Regions from separate parts of the Homo sapiens genome. Here all the other regions are linked to region 3. The links are contacts of gene promoters, found by promoter capture Hi-C in human tissues and cell types (Jung and others, 2019). All regions are on one chromosome and are shown on one strand. Each heading gives the region's core, a stretch centred on a gene start or on the middle of the fragment in contact. The rest is flanking DNA. Distances are from core to core; before and after follow the strand shown. Region 1 holds the start of LOC105375262 (a long non-coding RNA gene). Region 2 holds the start of CAMK2B (calcium/calmodulin dependent protein kinase II beta). Region 3 holds the start of TMED4 (transmembrane p24 trafficking protein 4).

The links. Contacts are between HindIII fragments. The study calls those that stand out against the background at their distance.
Region 1: a contact is called between a fragment that was not itself captured here and the fragment with the promoter of TMED4 in region 3, in 1 of the 25 tissues and cell types used here (H1 embryonic stem cells).
Region 2: the fragment with the promoter of CAMK2B here is called in contact with the fragment with the promoter of TMED4 in region 3 in 1 of the 25 tissues and cell types used here (heart right ventricle).

The regions. Positions count from the first base shown.
Region 1 is chr7:44,902,566-44,906,900 of GRCh38, reverse strand. LOC105375262 (a long non-coding RNA gene) reads right to left here and starts at 2,200. Exons shown (of 2, transcript XR_927228.2): 1 at 909-2,200. The HindIII fragment of the contact is 4,847 bases long and covers 1-3,673 here.
Region 2 is chr7:44,323,134-44,327,736 of GRCh38, reverse strand. It overlaps CAMK2B (calcium/calmodulin dependent protein kinase II beta), which reads left to right and starts at 2,143. Exons shown (of 24, transcript NM_001220.5): 1 at 2,143-2,380. The coding sequence starts at 2,316. The HindIII fragment of the contact is 12,993 bases long and covers 1-4,289 here.
Region 3 is chr7:44,580,189-44,584,617 of GRCh38, reverse strand. It overlaps TMED4 (transmembrane p24 trafficking protein 4), which reads left to right and starts at 2,387. Exons shown (of 5, transcript NM_182547.4): 1 at 2,387-2,571; 2 at 2,795-2,895; 3 at 3,044-3,169; 4 at 3,379-3,525. The coding sequence starts at 2,412. RefSeq lists an enhancer at 1,904-2,013 and silencers at 2,104-2,263, 2,664-2,763. The HindIII fragment of the contact is 5,448 bases long and covers 1-4,429 here.

The DNA of each region.
Region 1 (4,335 bases), core at 1-2,500, 320 kb before region 3:
AACCAGAAAAAACAAAAATGAAGACAACAGGTGCACTAGGATGGTAAGATTGTGTATGAAATTTTGTTCACTTAAAATTGTCTGGCTAGGTGCAGTGGCTCACGCCTGTGATCCCAGCATTTTGGGAGGCCAAGGCAGGCAGATCATTTCAGGTCATGAGTTCGAGACCAGCCTGGCCAAAATGGTGAAACCCCGTCTCTACTAAAAATACAAAAATTAGCCAGGCATGGTGGTGGGTGCCTGTATTTCCAGCTACTTAGGAGGCTAAGGCAGGAGAATTGCTTGAACCCAGGAGGTGGAGGTTGCAGTGAGCCGAGATTGAGCCACTGCACTCCAGCCTGGGCAACAAGAGCAAAACTCCATCTCAAAAAAAAAAAAAAAAAAACAACGGAAATTTTCTGTAATATTTTAGTAAGGTTTTAATAAAATATACCTTAAAAATATTTGGCCGAGTGCAGTGGCTTGTGCCTATAATTCCAGCACTTTCAGAGGCCAAGGTGGGAAGATTGCTTGAGCACAGGAGTTTGAAACCAGTCTGGGAAACCCCCTCTCTACAAAATAAAAAATAAAAAAGTTAGCCAGGAATGGTAGTGTGCACCTGTGGTCCTAGCTACTCAGAAGGCTGAGGTGAGAGGATCACTTGAGCCCGGGAGGTAGAAGCTGCAGTGGACTGTAGTCGTGTCACTGCACTCCAGCCTGGGCGACAGAATGAGACCATGTCTCAAAAAAACAAAAAAAAAAAGTTCTACCTCCTAAACTAAAACTTGAATTAAAGAAGCAATTCAACCAGAGGAGGACAAAGAGGTGACAGATCTCACTGCTTATCTAACCTAGCAAGCAGGAAAATAACTATGCTGCTAATTTATCAAAAAGAGAGAAAGTAGAATCCTTGCCTGAGAGGAGTTTACCTTTTTGTACTCTGAAGACAGAAGAGCAAGACACATCTTGGAAATCATGGTATATTCAAGGCTTTGGTCAATGGGCTCTGCCCCTGACTGTTGTGCTCCATTTCTGATCAGCCATGTCCTGCAGCTCAGCAGCAGATGGTGTGGCCAGGCCCCTGATGGTGGGGACAGCCAGGGTGAGTGGCTGGAGGGAGTCAGGGGGCTGGTCACAGACACATGGAGTCTGAGACAGAGGCAGGATGTGTAGCTAGAGCCATGATGCATCACAAAGCGAATGGGAGAATCCAGTAGTGACAGAAACACTAGAGCTGTCGATATGGAAATGGCCCCATTGCAGAAACAGTGAAAGCTCAAAGAGGCCATAAGATGCTCAAGGGCAAGCATGAAGGAAAGATCAGGAAGCCCAAGGGGTGGCAGGACAGAAGCTGCAGTGGGAGGTGATTAAAGCAGGTGCACACAGTGGCACCGGGGCACGGGAACAGCTCTGCCAGGAACTGAGGCGACGAAAACCCAAGTCATTGTCAGCCAGGAAGGACCACACTGTCAAGAAGGCGCCTCCTGGGAGGGGCATGAGTGTGGTGGGGTGAGGTGGGCATCCAGGACCAGCCAAGGAGTGACGTCCAGGGTGCGCCACATGCGGTTCTTTCCCATGAGAAAGTTTCCATATACTGCTCACTTAACTGAAAAGATGGCACTCACACTTCAGAGTCTTGCAAGATGAGTGGGAGAAGCACATGAGAGATGCATAAGGGACCTTTGCTGAGAAGCAGGCGGGAACTGCTCAGCTGTAAACTACACCAAAGAGTCACCGGGACCCAGGGCCTACCTCCCAGCTCCCACCTGCAGGTGCATCCTTCTCAGCTTCTACACAGTTGATTCGATGCTGGAAGGTTTCCCATGCTCATGCTCCACTCCCCGTCCACCTTGCTGAAACTGCCTGAGTGCTGTCTTAATAAATACACATTTTCTTTATTTCTTACTCAAATTGAGGAGCCTCTCAACAGCTAGAAGTGGTTCATGGTTCTCCACTCCAGCTGCACATTAGACTCAATTGGAGAACTTTTGCAACATAGCAATGCCCCAGCTTCATCCCAGGTAATTAAATCAGAATGTGACAGATTCACTGGGTGATTCTGAGACGAGAACCGGGAATTCAGTGATACACTGTACATCCTTTGTGATATATTGGTAAATTAATAGGCTGTTATTAAGAATATCCTGAAGAGCCTCATGCAGTTTCTATAGAAACAGTATGGAGGTTTGGTTCCTCAAAAAAAAATTTTTTTTTTTTTAAGCAGAGTCTCGCTCTGTCGTCCAAGCTGGAGTGCAATGACATGATCTCTGCTCACTGCAACCTCTGCCTCCTGGGCTCAAGTGATCCTCCCACCTCAGCCTCCCAGTAGCTGGGATTATAGGCACCTGCCAAGACTAATTTTTGTATTTTTAGTAGAGACAGAGTTTCACCATGTTGCCCAGGCTGGTCTCGAATTCCTGGCCTCAACTGACCGTCCCATCTCAGCCCCCCAAGTAGCTGAGACTACAGGTGTGCATGTATTTTTTGTAGAGTCGGAGTTTTGCCATGTTGCCCAGGCTGGTCTTGAACTCCCAGGCTCAAGAGATACACCTGCTTTGACCTCTCCTCAAAAAATTAAAAACAGAACTACCATATGATCTGGCAATCCCACTGCTGGGTATTTATCCAAAAGAATTGAAATCAGGATCTTGAAGAGATGTCTGCACTCACTGTTCATAGCAATACTAGTCACAATCGCTAAGCTGTGGAAATAACCTAAATGTCCATTGATGGATGAAAGGACAAAGGAAATGTGGTGTGTAAATCCAATGACATATTAAAAAGAAAGGAAATTCTACAATATGCAGCAACACGGATGAACCTTGAGAACATTATGCTAAGTGAAATAAGCCATTACAATGTGGTTACCAGGGGCTAGGGGCAGGGGAAAAAGGGGAATTGCTAATCAATGCATATAAAGCCCTAGAGATCTTCTGTACATTTTCCCTATAGTTAACAATACAGTATTATGCACTTAAAAATCTGTTAAGAGGGTAGATACATTGTGTTCTTACTACAATTAAAAAATGTTTAAAGAATGTTTTTAAATAATAGTCTAAAGGAAATAAAAGATAAGCTACAAATAAGAGAAGACATAATCAACAAATGATTGCACTAATAACAGGTACAGGCAGGGTGAGGTGGCCCACACCTGTAATCCTAACACTTTGGGAGGCCAAGGCAGGAGGATCACTTGAGTCCAGGAGTTCAAGACCAACCTGGGCAACTGGGCACCTTGTCTCTACAAAAAATTAAAAAATAAAAATTAGGCTTGGGCATGGTGGCTCACGTCTGTAATCCCAGCACTATGGGAGGCCAAGGTGGGTGGATCACCTGAGGTCGGGAGTTCCAGACCAGCCTGACCAACATGGTAAAACCCCATCTCTACTAAAAATACAAAAATTAGCTGGGTGTGGTGGTGGGCACCTGTAATCCCAGCTACTCAGGAGGCTGAGGCAGGAGAATCACTTGAACCCAGGAGGTGGAAGTTGCAGTGAGCCGAGATCGCACCACTGCACTCTAGCCTGGGCGACAAAGCAATACTCTGTCTCAAAATAAAATAAAATTTAATTTAATTTAAAAATAAAAATAAAAATTAGCCAGGCATGGTGACACATGCATGTAGTCCCAACTACTCAGGAGGCTAAGGCAGGAAGATCACTTGAGCCCAGGAGTTCAAGGCTGCAGTGCTGTAATTACACCACTGCACTCCAGCCTGGGTGACGGAGTAAAACTCTGTCCTCAAAAAATTAAAAATTAGAGGCAGTTGGATCACTTGAGGCCAAGAGTTTGAGACCAGCCCGGTCAACACAGCGGAACCCCGTCTCTATTAAAAATACAAAAATCAGTCGGGCATGGTGGCGCATGCCTATAATCCCAACTACTTGGGAGGCTGAGGCAAGAGATTCATTTGAACCCAGGAGGCAGAGGTTGCAGTGAGCTGAGATCGCACTATTGCACTCCAGCCTGGGTGACAGAGGGAGGCTCTGTCTCAAACAAAACAAAACAAAACAAAACAAAATTTTTTTTTTGAGACGGAGTTTTGCTCTTGTTGCCCAGGCTGGAGTGCAATGGCACGATCTCGGCTCACCGCAACCTCTACCTCCCAGGTTCAAGCAATTCTCCTGCCTCAGCCTCCCTAGTAGCTTGGATTACAGGCATGTGCCCCTATGCCCGGCTAATTTTGTATTTTTAGTAGAGGCGGAGTTTCTCCATGTTGGTCAGGCTGGTCTCGAACTCCTGACCTCAGGTGATCCATCCGCCTTGGCCTCCCAAAGTGCTGGGATTACAGGCATGAGCACCACGCCCAGCCAACAAACTTTTAATTAAAAAAATATTTAAAGAACATGTGGCCGG
Region 2 (4,603 bases), core at 894-3,393, 260 kb after region 3:
CCAGGGTAGCTCTGCTTCATACCTCTAATATTTCAGCTCGGAGGAGGGACTGCCTGGGGGTCCCAGGTGCTAACAGGTACAAAAGGCGGGAAGAAGTATAGGATACAATGAATCTCAAATTGCATCTCTTAGTGACCCCACATTCTTGTGTAACCCTGGTCCTGGGCAGCTTCTCAACTTTTGAAAGGTGACCTCGGCCGGGTGCAGTGGCTCATGCCTGTAATCCTAGCACTTTGGGAGGCCGAGGTGGGTGGATCACCTGAGGTCAGGAGTTTGAGACCAGCCTGGCCCACATAGCTGGGGCTGTGAGCCACTGTGAGCTTGTTACAGGCGTGAGCCACCGTGCTTGGCTTGTTATTTGTATTCTGTTGTGTGGCCCTACCTCGTCTTTCCAGAGCTCAGAAAGGGAAAATATGGATGCATCCAGCAGGTGCTGGAAGAAACTCCTGTGGGGTTAAACACAACGCCAAGAACAAACCTCAGACTTGGCCTCCAGTCCTTTCTCGAGCCCATGCCAGTCTGTCTGTTAGGATGGCCCAGGATTCTCTGAGTCCAAGTCTGACATAGACGGGGTCTCCCTTCCTGCTATGGTCCTGCTGAAGTCAAGGCCAGGATCCCTCTGCTTCCTCAGCTGGGGACTTCCCCAGGTGGCCCAGCATTTGCCTTTGGCCTGAGAATTTCTCGTCCTCTAGTGTCTTCTGGGTGCAGGTGGGTCGATGGCAGGGACTTGTTGCCGTGTGGTCTACTAATTGCCCAGCAGTCCCATGCCAAATGCATCCTGGCCCAGAAGGGCCCTGGCTGCCAGCACTCAGAATGCCTTTATCCCCTCCCTTATCCACATGACATTTATTGTGGCTTCTGGGGCTTGCCCTGGGCTGGCCACGAGGTGAGAGGGATGAGCAGGATAGGCCCAGAATTGGTCCTTGGGGAGCAGTAAGGAAGTCATATCAGGGCAGCAGCGTGACCCAAATCCAGAGCTGGCTGCTGGAAACCCCCTCCTCAGAGCCTGCCCAGGATGGACCCCGTCAGAGAAGAGTGTGGGGATGCTGGAGCCCAGTGGTCTAAAGTCCCGGTTCTGGACAGCAGCCCTGGTGCCAGGCCTCAGGGAAGGCTGTTTTGTGGGAAACCGGGTCGCCCTGCCTCCTGCCTGCCTCCCTGCACTCTCCTCCTCCTTGGCTGCTTTCAGGAGGGGGTTGGGGTGTGTGGGCCCTCCTCCTCCAGGCAAAAGCAGGGGGCAGGCAGGTGGACCGTGCTGGAAAAGGAGAGAATGTGCACCTTTACCTGATCAGGGTGGCTGTGAGCTCTCAGGCCCCCCAAATTGCTGGTGGAGCAGCCCCTGTTCCCCTGGCTCAGGGTCCGTTGGTCTGGACTCCGAATGTTGCCTCCTGGGACCTCCATTCCAGACAACCCAGCAACCAGTCTTTGGAGAAGTGAGGGGGAAGGGAGGGGCTGGGGCCAAGGGGAGGGGGCAGGCCCCACCCTTTCACTTTCTCATGCTAGTGACCCAGTGTGTACACTGCCTTCTGGGCGGTTCCTCCTGGCCAGGCAGCCTTTGGGGCATGTGTGGCTGATGGAGACTGGGCAGAAGGGATCTGGCAGCATCTCTTCCTGAGGGTGTGAGGAATGAGTCCTGTGGAGGGCAGCACATGAGCCCTCTACCTCCATGTGGGCCCCAGTCCCCTCCTGCTGTCAGGCTAGGTGGGCCTTCGAGAGAGAGAGAGGAGGCTGCGTTCATTATGTGCACTCTTCTGTGTTATGTGAGAGCGAGGGGTCGGCAGCAGCAAGTGGCCTGCGTGCGCGAGGTGCGGGCGTGGTGCGGGTAGAGGATGAAGGCGTCAGTACAGGGCGCGGGTGTGTGTGTGGGGTGCGGGGGCGGGCGGGGGCGGGCGCGCGTGTGAGTGCAGGTGCAGGTGCAGGTGCGTTGCGGGTGCGGGGCAAGGGTGTGTGTGCAGGGCGCGTGTGCAGATGCAGGGCGCCGGTGCCCTGCGGGTGCGGGTGCAGGAGCAGCGTGTGCAGGGCGCGGGGAAGGCGCGTGCAGGGGGCGGCGGGCGGGGCGGGCGCGGCGGCGGCGGCGGTGACAGCGGCGCCCGCGCCTCCCCGCGCGTAGGTGTGCGGCGCGCTCCTGGCGAGGACGGAGCGAGCAGATCTCGCGTGCGCTCGCCGCCCGGCGCAGCCCAGCCCGGCCCCCGCCTGGCGCCGCGAGCCGAGGTGTCTCCCGCGCCCGCGCCCGTGTCGCCGCCGTGCCCGCGAGCGGGAGCCGGAGTCGCCGCCGCCCGAGCGCAGCCGAGCGCACGCCGAGCCCGTCCGCCGCCGCCATGGCCACCACGGTGACCTGCACCCGCTTCACCGACGAGTACCAGCTCTACGAGGATATTGGCAAGTAAGAGCAGCGGCGCGCGCGGGCTGGGCCGGGGACCCCAGAGGGCCGGGACCTCCGGGACCCTCCGCGCCGCCGGCTCCAGGCGCACTGCGGGCCCGCGCGCCGCCGGCTTCTCTGGGCTCCGGGCCCAAGCGCACGGCCCCGCGCGGCCCCGACCCGCGAGCCCCCGGCCCCGGGCCTGGCTGCCTGACCTCAGCGCGCGCGGCCCTGCCCAGCTCTGCCCAGCGCGGCTGCCGGGCCGGGGCTCCGGGCTCGCGACTTGGCGCGGCGGGGGCGGCAGCAGGTGTCCCCGGAGCGCCCGGCAGACGTGACGCATTTGGCGGCGGGGAGGTCAGAGAGGAGGGGCGCGCGGGGGTGGCCCCCGGGCCTGGAGCGCCGGGAGGGGTCGGCTGCGGCCCCAGAGGGTCGTCCCCGACGCGGGTGCGCTGTCCCCACCCCCACCCGAGCGGCAGGCGGCGGGGGTGGCGGGACCTGCTTGCGCCTGCTCCTGCGCGTGGCCCCATCCGCGCTGGGGGTGCCGGCGTGGGAGAGCCTCTGCTGTAGGTCCCCTGGGGAATCTGGGTTCTGGAGGATTTTCCCCCAGATTCTTCTGGAAACAGGAATTTGGAGGTGTGGGGAGGACGAGGTCAGGGAGCCTGGATCAGGTCATGGGGATAGCGGGGAGAGACTAAGAGCCTGACTGGATTGCAAATTTCAGGGTCATCGAGGTGGATGGGGGCTGGATTTTGGACTGTTGGCGGGGGCGCCCTAAAGGGGAAGGGGCTTTGAAGGTTTGTTTGAAGTGGGACCTCACGGGGAACAGGTGCTGTGGCTCCCGTTCTCTCCTTGGCAGTATGAGCAGTGTAGGGCGAAGGTCTGGTTCGTGGTCCCCGGACCCGGCTTTGCCCCTGGGGTGAGATGGGGAGCGCCTCAGGGGCCTCCTGTCTGGCCTGGGGTCTCCCGTTCTGAGAATCAAGGTGGCTGCACCTGGCATCCCTAGGGCTAGCTTCAGAACTCCTGAATCTCCAGCCTGACTGGGCCAGAGCCCCATCCTCCTGCGTCCTCCCCCATCCTCCTCCGTCCCTTCAGTGCAGGCGGTGGGGGCGCTGGCGGTGCTGGCGAGATTTCCTCTTACACATCCAGCAACAGATCCTTTTTTTCCTTTACTAAATAAGTGTCTGGTGAAACCTTGTGGTGGGTGAGGGACGCTGATCATTGATAATTGTGGAGTGCGGAGCTGGAGGAGTGTGGGGGTGTGTTCATTCCCCACTTCTCCCTGCACGTGTGGAGAGAATTCTGGTAGGGGTTAGGGATGTGGAGCCCAGCCCTGCAAGAAGCCCATGCTGGATGGGTGGGGTGGGGGGCCAGGCTGGCTGGGGGACCCTTCCTTGGGTGGATCTGGAGAGCACCACAGGGCTGAGACCTCGAGGGAGAGGGCGAGCCCAGCCCCCTTCATGCGGATCCCTGAGTGGGTGGCTGGCTCCCCGGTCTTCACCCCTCAGATGCACCGATCTACCCCCGTCTGTCCTCTTGGCCTCCAGAGGTGTCCTGGCCACTGGAGGGGCAGGTGGGTGGCAGTTAATGTGCCTGGTTCTCTGAGGAAGAGAGCAACAGTGGGAAGTCAGTCTTTCCTCAGGAGCCTTCTTGTTGTCTTTTCTGCTTGCGCTCAGAAGCACAGAGGCCCTCACAGCAGGTGTCCCTGGTCTTCTCCAAAGAAGCCACTTTCAAGACCTCCCCATGTGCACCCAGTGTCCTCAGACTGCAGCTCACTCTGGCTGTTCCTTCTTCCCTTTGCTGCGAGCCTCCCTGCGTCCAGCGGCAGTGTCCGGGTGGCCAGCTCCCCGCTGAGCCTCCGATTCCAGCGCAGCTGGATGTCCTGGCCAGTGCCACCCACACTGGGGAATGGAGGTCTTTGGGGCTGCCTGGGGAAGGTTGAGAGAGGTGGCTCCAGAGGTGGAGACCAGGTGGGGCTAAGACTGCTGGGCTTCTCTGTCAAGCCAGAGAATGAGCTGCTGCTGGAAAGGAGCGAGTGTGGCCTCCTGAGCGAAAGCACTGGGAGCCATGCATTGCGAGGTGAGGAGTGGGGCCTGGCATCGAGGGGAGCCCCATGACCTGGGACAAGAGGAGATGCCCAAGCCAGGAGCAGGCAGCTCAGCCTAGTGCACCTTTGTGGAGCCCTGCTAGGCGCCGGGTCCCTGGCGACGCCAAGGGCCTACCACTGCCCTGCTGTGGCGGCTCTTGGGT
Region 3 (4,429 bases), core at 1,138-3,637:
AAAATTCTGTTGGTCAAATGACCCAGTTTCTTCAATAAGTAAATGCCATGAATAACAAACAACAAAAAGAGAGGGGAAATTTATATATATAATATATATATAATATGTATAATATATATATATGTTGTTATATGGTTTGTTTTTTTTTTTTTGGACACGAGTCTCTCTCTCACCCAGGCTGGAGTGCAGTGGCATGATCTCGGCTCACTGCAACCTCTGCCTCCTGGGTTCAAGCGATTCTTCTGCCTCAGTCTCCCAAGTAGCTGGGACTACAGGTGAGCACCACCACACCCAGCTAATTTTTGTATTTTTGGTAGAGGTAGGGTTTCACCATATTGGCCAGGCTGGTCTCGAACTCCTGACCTCGTGATCTGCCCACCTTGGCCTCCCAAAGTGCTGGGATTACAGGTGTGAGCCACTGCGCCCGGCCCTGTTTTTGTTTGTTTTGAGATAGAATCTCACTCTGTTGCCTAGGCTGGAGTACAGTGGCATCATCTCAGCCCACTGCAACCTCCACCTCCCTGATTCTAGCAATTCTCCTGCCTCAGCCTCCCAAGTAGCTGAGATTACAGGTGTGCACCACCACACCTGGCTAATTTTTGTATTTTTAGTAGAAACAGGGTTTCACCATGTTGGCCAGGCTGGTCTCAAACTCCTGACCTCAAGTGATCCTTCCACCTCAGCCTCCCAAAGTGCTGGGATTACAGGCATGAGCCACTGTGCCCAGCCAAAATTGTTATATATTAAGAGACATATATTTGTATGAAATGCAGTAAGTAAACCTTGTTTGGACCCTAAATATCTAATGTACAAAATTTTTTAAGGCAATGGGGAAAATTAAACACATACTAGGTATTAAGTGATGTTAAATAATTTTTAAAATTTTGGTGGGTGTGATAATAGTATAAAGTCCTTATCTGTTAGAGACACACACTGACGTATTTATAGGTGAAATGACATGATGTCCAGGATTTGCTTTAATATACAGCACTTCAAAAAAAAATGCAGAAAGGGATACATGAAATGAGAAAGGCAGCAAACTGTTGTTGAAGTTGGATGATGAGTACAGCCCTCCGTTATTATCCAAGGGGGATAATTCCTGGACCCCTACGGATACCAAAATCCAGGTATGCTCAAGTTCTTTATGAAAGTTCATTGTAATTATTCTATTATATAAAAGTTTCGAAATTCTGTTGATAAAATGTATTTTTAGTAGAGACGGGGGTTTCACCTTGTTGGCCCAACTGGTCTCGAATTTCTAACCTCAGATGATCCACCAGCCTTGGCCGCCCAAAGTGTTAGCATTACAGGCGTGAGCCACCGCGCCCGCCTGGCCTTGATAAAAACAGTTTTAACCTTCCGTTGCTTCGATTCCATGCCCACTAAGTAACATTCCAGTTTGTTTTTCACTTTCAAAAGGATGTGCTGTAACTAGGGGATGTAAACAAGCTCCATGACCCTACTTATTCCAAGTTTTCGTTCCACTCTCCCACCTTTTTTTTAAGACAAGGTATCACCCTCGGTCGCCCAGGCTGGAGCGCGATCACTGCTTAATGCATCCTCGACCTCCTGGGTTCAAGCGATTCTCCTGCCTCAGCCTCCCAAGTAGCTGGGACTACATGCGCACACCACCACACCGGTTAATTTTTTGTAGAGACGGGGGTTTCACCATGTTGCCCAGGCTGGTCCCGAACTCCTGGGCTCAAGGGATCCGCCCGCCTCAGCCTCCCAGAGTGCTGGGATTACAGGTGCCAGCCACCGCGCCCGGCCCCAGCTTCTTAAAAGAATGATCCGAAACTATGGCAGCACTGGGCTTTTGGTCCCCACCCAAGAAATGCCCGCTCGCAGAGGCTCGCCGCGGCAGGCTCTCCCGACGTGACAGAGTGTGGGTCTGGATTCAGCCTCGGTTCTTACGAGTCAGATAGGTGGACACGCAAAGCAAAACATCACAGGGCTTTTTGTATTTAGCACAGAAAACACTTGTGAGCCCGAGCTGAGAACCCAAAAGGCACGCTTCAGGCCATCGTAGCCACCAAGCCTGGTCAGATTCCGTCCACCGTCTCCTTGGTGCTCCGAGACCCAAATCGCTGACTGGGGCCGAGGGCGGGCGTGACTGCGCAGGCGTGCCTCCCCTGCGAGATGCCGGAGGTAAGCTGCGGGGTAAGGGGCGAGAAATTAAGGGCGAACGTCATTGCGCATGCGCCCTCTACTCTCGTTGCGGGGGTAGGCGGGCGCCGGGCTGTGTGAGGGGGCGGGGCGCGGCAGTGTTCGGTACGGATGGAGTTGCAGGAGACGGCGAGTACATATCACTGCGCAGGCGTCCTCTTCCCCTAACTCTCAGGGTCGCTAGGGTGGCGCGCAGGCGCAGAGCGATGCGCAAATGTGCGCAGGCGCTTAGGGGCTGAGGCGCGATGGCAGGTGTCGGGGCTGGGCCTCTGCGGGCGATGGGGCGGCAGGCCCTGCTGCTTCTCGCGCTGTGCGCCACAGGCGCCCAGGGGCTCTACTTCCACATCGGCGAGACCGAGAAGCGCTGTTTCATCGAGGAAATCCCCGACGAGACCATGGTCATCGGTCAGGCGGGCTGAGGGTGGGGAGGCCCTTTGTACCCAGCTCAGCCCTCGGCGGCGCTCCCTCCTCCCGAGCCCAGCCGGGTCGCTGGCTCCCCCAGTACCTAGCCTGAGGGTGCCCCGAGGACGCCAGGCCCCCTGCCTAGAGCTCCGGGCCGCACGTCGGAGGGGGCCGGGCGGAGAGGCGGCCCACTAGGGCCGGTCGTGACTATGTGTCTGCCCCGCAGGCAACTATCGTACCCAGATGTGGGATAAGCAGAAGGAGGTCTTCCTGCCCTCGACCCCTGGCCTGGGCATGCACGTGGAAGTGAAGGACCCCGACGGCAAGGTAAGGCTGGCGTTGGCCCACGCAGCCGTTCTTCAGTGGAGCTCCCGTGGGGTGTAAAGCACTGCCTGGAGGAGGCCTCAAGGGACAGGAACTTGCACTTGGAGAGCCTGCGGTATAAAGGTGGGGCCTTCACTCACATATGTTGCAGGTGGTGCTGTCCCGGCAGTACGGCTCGGAGGGCCGCTTCACGTTCACCTCCCACACGCCCGGTGACCATCAAATCTGTCTGCACTCCAATTCTACCAGGATGGCTCTCTTCGCTGGTGGCAAACTGGTAAGAGGATTTTCTCTTTGGCTTCAGCTTAGAATCTCTCACTTGTTTCCAAATTTTGATTTATCAAGATTGTGAAACTTTGTAGCACAGTCAGAATTGGGGAGACAGATGTTGCCTTCTGCTCCACAGCCAGGGACAATAGTGGGTTCCATACCCTGGAACAGACAACTGGAGGCCCCACCACTCATACATTCCATGTTTCCTTGTAGCGGGTGCATCTCGACATCCAGGTTGGGGAGCATGCCAACAACTACCCTGAGATTGCTGCAAAAGATAAGCTGACGGAGCTACAGCTCCGCGCCCGCCAGTTGCTTGATCAGGTGGAACAGATTCAGAAGGAGCAGGATTACCAAAGGGCAAGTGCATATCTCCTTGTAATTTGAGAGGGCAGTTGACCTTTATACCCACTATACCTACTCAAGTTTCTGCTTGGGAGATCAGCTCTGCAGAGAATGGAATGAGAAGTATTGGTTTAGATAGGTTGTTTGTTTGTTGTTTTTGAGACGGAGTTTCACTCTTGTTGCCCATGCTGGAGTGCAATGCCATGATCTTGGCTCACTGCAACCTCCGCCTCCCCAGGTTCAAGCGATTCTCCTGCCTCAGCCTCCTGAGTAGCTGGGATTACAGGCATGCGCCACCATGCCTGGCTAATTTTGTACTTTTAGTAGAGACGGGGGTTTCTCCACGTTGGTCAGGCTGGTCTCGAACTCCCGACATCAAGTGATCCGCCCGCCTCAGCCTCCCAAAGTGCTGGGATTACAGGTGTGAGCTACCGCGCCCTGCCTGTTTTGCTTTTTTATCAAAACATTTTATTGTGGTAAAATATAACACCAAATGTGTCATTTTAACTGTCTATATAGTTCAGTGGTATTAAGTGCCTTCATAATGTTGTGCTACCAACACCATCATCCAGCTCCAGAACTTTTTCATCTTCTCAAACTAAAAATCTGTACTTATTTTGTTTTGTTTTTGAGATGGAGTCTCGCTCTGTTGCCCAGGCTGGAGCGCAGTGGCGCCATCTCGGCTCACTGCACCCTCCGCCTCCCAGGTTCAAGCGATTCTCCTGCCTCAGCCTCCCAAGTAGCTGGGATTACAGGCAAGTGCCACCATGCGTGGCTCATTTTTGTGTTTTTAGTAGAGACTGGGTTTCACCATGTTGGCCAGGCTGGTCTTGAACTCCTGGCCTCAGGCAATCCACTGCCGCAGCCTCCCAAAGTGTTGGGATTACAGGCGTGAGCCACTGCACCCAGCAAATCTGTA